Regions from separate parts of the Homo sapiens genome. Here region 1 is linked to region 2. The links are contacts of gene promoters, found by promoter capture Hi-C in blood cells and fetal thymus (Javierre and others, 2016). All regions are on one chromosome and are shown on one strand. The core of a region is centred on a gene start or on the middle of the fragment in contact, and the rest is flanking DNA. Distances in the headings are between cores, read along the strand shown.

Region 1 (4,417 bases), core at 1,855-4,354, 420 kb before region 2:
ATGAAGGGAAGCAGAGGATGGAGACAGGCAACAGTAGTTGGCATTTCTCCTACTTCTCCCATCCTGACCAGAAGAGACAACCCCTCAATTAGTAAAATACGGCCCACAGTACACCAAGCCATTTGCCACTGCTTGGCTTTTTTTTTTTTTCTTAATGGTTGGGAATGCTTGGGTTCGACTATAGAATCATTGGATTCATCGTGGAATTGGGGCTGAGTTGCAGGGAGAAAAGGGGAACATGCAGGAACTTCCCTCTCCCTCCAGTGACCTCGTATGGTCTGTTGTAGGCTCACTGTGTCCCTTCACTCTGGACTCCCTCAAGGGTTCCAAGTAGGAAGGCACAGGGAGGAAGTATCACTAGGGGAGGCTTCCAGATATTCCAGGGGATTGTTGCTTGGGTCCTAAAATCTCAGGGTTGGAATAGACTCTTGGGGCAAAGTATTTTCTCTGGCTTGTGTTTCTGACAGTGTTAGGGCCTCCTAAAGCTTCCTAGGCATAGGGGTATGCCTGGCTTGAATTTTAACCAGGGACTCAGTCCAGATTATGGGGAGACCCGAGGAAAAGTGCTGGGTAGAAGACCAAAAAACAAAGACCCTCAGAGTGAAAAGGGCCTCTAGACATCATCCCTTCCAACATCTCCCAGTGCCTGGAGCCCTCCTGCGCCACGTGTGTCAGATGGCCGGAGAGCCTCTGCTCGAATACCTCTTTGATGGGGAGCTCAACTTTTTAAAAGCCACCAGTTGCATCGTAAGCCAACTCTTGCCATTAGAAGATCCTTCTTATGCCAGACGGAAAACCGCTCTCTGGAACTTTCTCCCCTGGCTCATTCTGACCCCTGGAGCACCAGGGCATACGTCTGCTCTCTTGCTTACACGGCAGCCCTTCAGACATTTGTGACAGCTCTGTGTCCTGCTAAGATGTCTCTTCTCTGAGCTGAAGATCCCTTGACTCTTTGGGCCCACTGGGTGTGAGCTGGGGGTCTCAGTCCTCAGGGCCTGTCTTTTCTCTCCCCCATCACCGCTCAAGGTCGCACATGGGCAGTGCAGCAGACGTGCGGTTCTCCCTGGGCACAACCACACACGCACCCCCAGGCGTGCATCGCCGCTACTCGGCATTGAGGGAAGAGTCTGCCAAGGTGAGGGGGTGGAGGGATCTCCTCAGGGAGTTTGGGGTCAATTCGGCCGCGTGCCTGGCTCCAGTTACGCAGACGGCTGGTGTGTGGGGCAAATCCTTCCCCTTCCCTCCCGTGTCAATGACAGCTGCAGCCCTGGGGTTGAGGCCATCGTCAGCTGCAACAGCTGTGCCCCCCCCCCCGCTTGCCTTGGCCTCCTGGTGGGCAAGAGGTGGGGGCTGGCAGGCAGCCAACAGTCCCTGAGGCCCCACTGAAGTGTGTGTGCGTGTGCCTGGGCGTGCAGGCGTGTGTATCTGGTGGTCGGGCGTGGGGGGTGGGGGAGCTTCACGGGTAAGATGGAATTGGCAGACTTTCTGGAACAAAAGCTGTGGTTCATGGCGGAGACGAGGGAGGGATGACAGGTTAACTGGCCCTTGGGATGGCACCTGGAGTTTTCCGAGAAGCAGCTGTGAGTTCATGCTGTCTGAGTCTGCCTAGGGAGATTAGGGGAGAATGAGGAAAGATATGGGGCAGAAAAATGCCGAGTTTGATCTTTTGGGAAAGTGCAATTATTCGTCATGCTCTGTCCTGAATCCAGGTCCTCTAAATATCATTTAGAGCACTGGGGTATTAGAAGATATAGATGGAGAAAGAGGGAACTCCTAGTCTCAGGGGAAGATTCACTCTGCCCTTAAGAAATCCTCAGTCCGATGGGGGAGTCACAGTCTGAAGGTGCCTCTTTTTCTTTCTCCCCCGACTTCTTTGCTCTTTCTGTTTATAAGAATATAGCAGCTATCCAGGAGCTGAGAGGCTGCAGGAGCCTGAAGGGGAGCTAGGGGGCTTGGGTCATAGAGGATGGGTGTTAGAGTACCTTTCTGTCCCTGGCTCCCTTCCTTCCTTCTCTACTCTTCTGTTCTCCACCCTCCCCTCTTCTGGGCCTTTGTCCGCTGGATAGGTTTGTAGGATGATTTCAGAGAAGCTGCCGCCTCTCAGGGTTGACCAGACTGTCCTGTGATGATCTGAAACTCTGCAGACTGTCTATTCAGGCCTGCTTGGCCTTTCTGTTCTCTGGGTGTAGTCAGCCTTTGAGTTTGTATGGATGGAAACTGATAGCATTTATGTAGTGCTTGCTTTGTGCCAGGCACAGTGCTAAGGGCTTTACATGTATTTTCCTCATTTGATCCTCACAGCTATCTATGAGGTAAGTACTTTACCATCCCTATTTTACAGATGAAGAAACTGAGGCACAGAGAGGTTAAAAAATGTTCCTATGGTTGCACAACTAGTGTTTGGTGGAGATGAGATTCAAACCAAAGCCGTCTCTCTCTGGATTCTCTTCTTAACAGTTAGAGCAGTATTTCTTAGACTGTAATGTGCAAACAAATCACCCAGGGGTCAGCCGGGCACGGTGGCTCACGCTTGTAATCCCAGCACTTTGGGAGGCTGAGGTGGGTGGATTGCTTGAGCTCAGAAGTTCACTACCAGCCTGGGCAACATGGTGAAACCCCGTCTCTACTAAAATACAAAAAATCAGCCGGGCGTGGTGGCGTGCGCTTGTAATCCTAGCTACTCGGGAGTCTGAGGCAGGAGAATTGCTTGAACCTGGGAGGCGGAGGTTGCAGTGAGCCGAGATCACGCCACTGCCCTCCAGCCTGGGTGACAGAGGGAGACTCCATCTCAAAAAACAAACAAACCAAAAACCAAAAACCAAAAAACCACCCAGGGGTCTTGTTAAAATGCAGATGTTGAATCAGTAGGTCTGGTGGTGCGGCCTGAGATTCTGCATTTCCAGCAAGCTCCCAGGAGATGCCAGTGCTGGTGGGTAGAGGTAGGGAGGGTCCTGCTCTGCAGTTATCTGGGTGTCTTATTACGACTCCTTTACCCTCCTCCTTTGCTAAGGACTGGGAGACTTCTCCACTGCCTGGGATGCTGGCCCCGGCAGCTGGCCCTGCCTTTGACAGTGACCCTGAGATCTCCGACGTGGATGAGGATGAGCCAGGGGGTCTGGTGGGCTCTGCGGATGTTGTCTCCCCCAGCGGCCACTCAGATGCCCAGACCCTGGCCATGATGCTGCAGGAGCAGCTGGATGCCATCAATGAGGAAATCAGGTTAGGGCAGGGCTGGAGGGCTTGGGAAGTGCATTGAAGGGCAGGGGGGCCCTTTGTGTTGGAAAAACCCTATATGGGTTTGCCCAACTCTTATAGCTGCAACTTAGAGTACCACAGTTCAGGGACCCTCTGTGGGTCATCAGGCCCGCTGCCAGTGCCGGAGTGAGAGGAGCAGGGCCTCAGTGGACTTCTCAGGCTTCACCTCCCCTCTCAGGGCTTGCGATGTGGCTGGGCTCAGGAGGATGCATGCTGTGTTCCTGCAGCCCTGCAGCTGATCTTAACCACTAAGAGTGTAGCTCCTGCTTACTGAGGCTAGCTCAGGGTGAGAGCTTTGTAAATGTCACTGTCCATCTTACCACAGTGCCTGAGGTAGGCAGCATGATCCCTGTTTTACAGACAAGGGAACAGAAACTCAGAGAGGTTAAGTGACTTGCCCAAAGCCACACAGAAGTGACAGAGCCAGGATTCAAACTCAAGTCTGAACTTGGCCCACTGCACCATGCCTCCTGTCCCTAATAAGGCATCAAACAGAAACAGTGACAGGGAACGTTGTGAAAACCTTCACTTTGTCCTGCCTTTTTAATGAGTTTATTAATGTTAATGACAAACAGCAGGGCAATATCTGAGCTGGAGTGTATCAGAGCTTTATAAGCTGTACAGGACATCCAGTTCAATGGTTCAATGTATTGCACAGACCAGTTACAAAGAAGACACACACACACACACACACACACACACACATACACACACAGAGAGAGAGAGAGAAAGGTACAAACGTAGGACCACCAGCTTTTTATTTTGCAAAGTAAAACATTAATGATAATGACTATCTATTATCGCAATCATTTTGCAAAAGAAAGGACATTTTAACATTCCTGAAGTAAGAAAGACATACTCAGAATAAAGGCGAGTCCTTCTTTGTGAAAGGGAGTGGGCATCTTTACTGGAGCATGTGTGTGTGAGAGAGTGTGTGTGTGTGCGTGTGCATGCACTCCTTGCTGAGTGCCTCCCAGGCACACACGTGTACCATTTTTATTATTTCTCTCATTTTTCTGTGGAACAGGGAAAACCCCACCAGGGGTCAGCATCATTTAAAAGTCCTACACTTGGAAACTGCTGACTTATACCACTTCAGACATAGCATATGTTGGGAAACTGAGGCACAGACAGCAAAATACCTGACTCAAGGCCACCCTAT
Region 2 (4,443 bases), core at 1,792-4,291:
GATGGGGCAGATGAGAAAACCAAGGCTCGTGTGCTGAGACCTACTCACCAGGTAGCTAGAGAACAGCAGAGTTGACATCTTAATCCAGGTTTCCTAACCCCAAACCTTATACTCTCTCTTCACAGTATTGTTGGAAGAGCACTGAGAGGTCATTTGGTACAACCTCGTGTTTTATAAATGGCAAACTGAGGTCAGAGAGGGAGAGAGACATCTTCAAGGTCACACAGCATGCAATGGGGCAAAGCCAGGTCCCAAGAACCTGGACCCCTGTCTACCAGGATGGCGACTGTGTTGAACTGGGAAGTGCTTGTCCTGACTAAAGGTGTTCAAATCCTTTTTTTTTTTTTTAACCAATGCTTCAAAATATACCAGTAGGGTTTGTGGGAGTGGGGAACACAGAAGAAACAAGATTGGCCATGAGTCGGTAATTGTTGAAGCTAGGTATTAGATAATGGGGATATTAATACTATACTGTGTAAATATGTATACGTTTTAAAATTTCCACAAAACTTTTAAAAAATTAACGTGCTGTCAAAAAAAATTAGGTACTCAAGCCATATTAGGTCCACAAGCCACTGATTAGCAAACTCTATTCTGGACACTCCTGAATATCCTGCTGGCCATGTCTATACTTCTTTCCAATTCTCTCTGCATAGCGTGGGATGCGGGAGATAGGAGAGGGAGGAAGGGAGATAACTGGCTTAGGCAGGGCTTGGAAGTTGGCCATCCATTCCCGAGAGCATAGACTCTTGGGATTTGGATGGCTGTCATACAAATGGATACAGGTGACACCCCTGCCCCTGCCCATACTCCACACTCCTTCCAGTCTGTCTATCCCCACAGACACTCTACCCATCATCCCTGTACCTCACTGTACTTTGCTCACCTTATTATTTTTTGAGACAGGGTCTTGCTCTGTGACCCAGGCTGGAGGGCACTGGCGTAATCATAGCTCATTACAGCCTTGGTCTCCTGGCCTCAAATAATCCTCTCACCTCAGTCTCCTAAGTAGCTGGGACTTCAGGTACACACCACCACACCCAGCTAATTTTTAAATTATTTGTACAAACAGGGTCCCCCCATATGGCCCAGGCTGGTCTCGAACTCCTGGGCTCCATTAATCTTCTGCCTTCGTCTCCCATAGTGCTGGGATTACAGACATGAGTCTCCGTGCCCAGCCAGTCTTTTTTGCCCTCTATCATCTACCACCCACCATACCAAGGGAAACAAGCAAATCTGGCGTCTGATGTTCCCGGCCTGCAGAAGACGCCATATCCCATCTGGATGAGAAATGAAGCACATGAGCAGCCTGGCAGAGCCACAGTTAATGTGAACCTGGAGAGGAACCGTGCTGTCTTCCAGCAAGACCTCACCAGCAGGGCGTGAAGCCATGAGATCTGGGGTGGAAGGGGGTTGGAGAAAGGTCTGGGTTTTATTTTTCCTTCTCCTTTTCTTAGGCTAATTACCATTCATCGCAATCCCTTTCCTAAACCCTAATATCTTCCCAGTTTATAAAGTGCTCTCACATTTACAATATTTAATCTTCCCAACCCTGTGAGGTCAATATTATCCATATTTTGTAAATGAGGAAACTGAAGGTCCTCATGATCAAGTGATTCACCTAAGACCATAGCTTGTGGGTGGCTGAGCCCAGGGCTGCAGACCCTAATTTTAATGTTCTCTCCTCTACCCCATATTGCGGAGGGCAGGCAGGCAGTCCCCTGTCATGGGGCTCTGCAGCTCTCCATGGAACCAATAATGGAGAAGAAAATTGCGTTGCATTTTCTAAGTAGTCAGCTGGGATGGCAGGAATTTATTTATTTTATTTACTTATTTATTTTTTGAGACAGAGTCACGCTCTTGTTGCCCAGGCTGGAGTGCAGTGGCACGATCTTGGCTCACTGCAAGCTTTGCCTCCCAGGTTCAAGCAATTCTCCTGCCTCAGCCTCCCTAGTAGCTGGGACTACAGATGCCCGCCACCACACCCAGCTAATTTTTTTGTATTTTTAGTACAGACAGGGTTTCACCATGTTGGCCAGGTTGGCCTCAAACTCCTGACCTCAGGTGATCCGCCTGCCTCTGCCTCCCACAGTACTGGGATTACAGGCGTGAGCCACTGTGCCTGGCCATGGCAGGAAATTTTGATGGGCATCTACTTACCTGCAAGTGTGTTGTGCTTTCTTAATTGAGGGGCATTGTTAGAGGATTGTTAGAGGTAGTGGTGTTACTTGACTGGGTCTTCTGGGGTGTTGATGTGCACAGGGGAAATTTGGATTTCCCATCACTTTGTGTGATGACCACACAGCCCCTAAATCTCACCTAAGTGTGATATGGAGAAGCTGAAAGAAGCCACTACATTGTCCACATGAGCTAGGAACAGTGACTTTAGGTCTTACATTAAATCTTAATTCTGCCTTAACTTTGCTGTGCAACTCAGGCCAGACTTCTCCCTCTCTGGTTCTCAGAACAGCCCTGGCAGCCAAACCGAAGTTATCTCCTATGCCAGCCTGAGACTCCACTCCCTTTGCAACCTCCTGGAGAAGATAACTTAGGGAAAGACTGTCACTGCTCAGAGGAAGCATCCCAAACCCCTCACTGGTTTAGGAATTTAACACTACCGAGCAACGGCCCCAGAAGGCAAGGCGATTGTTAGGAGGAATTAAACAGGCTAGTGCTGGACCCAGCCATCCAGTCCTGGCTTACACAGAGGTTGCTTTTCATGCCTTTTCACTCTGTTAATTTGGCTTGTTTTCCAAACATGGGTCAAACAACCCCTCTCCAGAAGCGGCAGCAGCAGAAGGAAATGTTATTAAAAATGAGTCTGTTAGTGGGAATGGTGTGTGGATGAAGTCTTTGGGAGTTTTGGCTGCCAAATAAAGACTTTATTGTCATTCCTCCTTTCCCAAGCTCCCTCCCTCTCTCCTCCCCTCCCCTCCCTCCCTCCTCCCTCCTCTCCTCCCCTCCCTCCCTATGATCTGCCCCTCCCTCCCCCCAAGCTAACCTCCCCACCCCAATAGGATCTGGTGGAAGAAAAGTCAGGCAAACACAAGCACGCACACACCACTGGGAGATCAGATCTTCTAGCTGGCTCTCTGCTGCCACAGCTCCGCCGAAGGGAGGGGGTGGAAGAGGAGGACTAAACTCAGAGCTGAGAGGAGAGGCAGGTGTGTGCAGGTAAGCCCAGTTGGGAGATGGGCAGGAGACTGGGAAGAATCTTTCATCCAGTAAGTTTCCTCCAGCTCTGTCCATTTATTGATCTAGTCTCTATCCTCTCACTCCTTCCTTCCTCCCACCTCTTTCTCCTCTCAAATGAGTTCAAATTTAGTCTTCCTAACTTCTTTCCTATAGCCTCTTCCTTTTCTTTTCATCACTCTGTACCCCTATATTTGCTTACTGCAAAAGTTAAGCTTTCCTGCTGCAGATGTTTGTTGTAGCACAGAGAGCCACGCTGCACAAAGTGTTTCTACAGATCAGGTGTTTCCATAGAAACTGGACTCCAGAACCCATTTCTTTGCACCTTTTGTGTATTGTCACACATTGTGGAAGTCACACACATCACACGGAGGCTGCACGTTCACTACCATCACCCCACACGACCATACAAAATGAAGACATCCTGTCCATTCACCTCTGCCCTCTGCATCTGACATGCAGAGCTAGACCACATCATCACCAGACACCAGCAGACACACACACACATGCATGCACACATGTTCCCTGCATCTTGTCTCTCGCCCTCTCACACACACCTCCCTAGCTGTAAGAGCAAAGATAAAGTACGTTTTCCCACTGAGATGGCAGAGCCAGAAGAAAATCTTGCATCCCAAGTCCAGGCCGAATAGGGAGGAGATAAGCAAGAGCGGGAGCTGGAAGGGTTTCTTCATTATTTAGGGCTTCACTGGGTAGGAGGGAGAGAAAAACGGCTTTTTCCAACCTGCACAGTGTCTTCTCAGCAGCTTTCAATTTCTGTCTCACTGGTCCAAACCACTTGGCTTTTGGAAAGAAAGAAGAAAGCGACCCAGTTCCCAATCCTTGAAGGTCCTAATTCCCAGCTCTGGGGACAGTTCATTTTTTTATTTTTTTTTCCTGCAGGCAGCCAGAAAAATATTTTTCTTTAAAGCCGTTCTGAAATTATTCCAACCATTTAGGTTGGCAAAAGGTCCTGTGGCAGAGGAGAAAAAAAAAAAAAGGCAGCAGTTCCTTAAGCAGTTGGGGAGGGGAAAACTGAAGGGCGGCCCCTCTCCTGCTCCCCTGCTCATTCCTCTCTATTAATAGAGAGGGTCTGTCCCAAGGCAGGCGGGGTGTAGGGAGATCAGGGGTCCCACACACAGCTGATCTTCACAGTCACCTAAGGGCTGGAGAGGGAGGAGTGTGGAGGGCTTACTAAAAATACAGATGTCGGCTCTCACTGCAGATCTACTGAATCGAGACCCAGGAATCTTG

Evidence for each region. The method cuts DNA at HindIII sites, captures the fragments that hold promoters and counts their contacts. A CHiCAGO score of 5 or more calls a contact.
Region 1: a fragment that was not itself captured here is called in contact with the fragment with the promoter of PRELP in region 2 in 1 of 17 cell types (endothelial precursors); the score reaches 6.4 in endothelial precursors.

Annotation. Positions count from the first base shown.
Region 1 is chr1:203,050,743-203,055,159 of GRCh38, forward strand. PPFIA4 (PPFI scaffold protein A4) reads left to right here. Exons shown (of 30, transcript NM_001304331.2): 14 at 1,027-1,135; 15 at 3,011-3,219. Among named protein-coding and RNA genes, the nearest start is that of PPFIA4, 26 kb to the left of the region's middle. RefSeq lists enhancers at 765-1,306, 3,807-4,417. The HindIII fragment of the contact is 5,243 bases long and covers 484-4,417 here.
Region 2 is chr1:203,472,765-203,477,207 of GRCh38, forward strand. PRELP (proline and arginine rich end leucine rich repeat protein) reads left to right here and starts at 3,042. Exons shown (of 3, transcript NM_002725.4): 1 at 3,042-3,174. The HindIII fragment of the contact is 1,499 bases long and covers 1,907-3,405 here.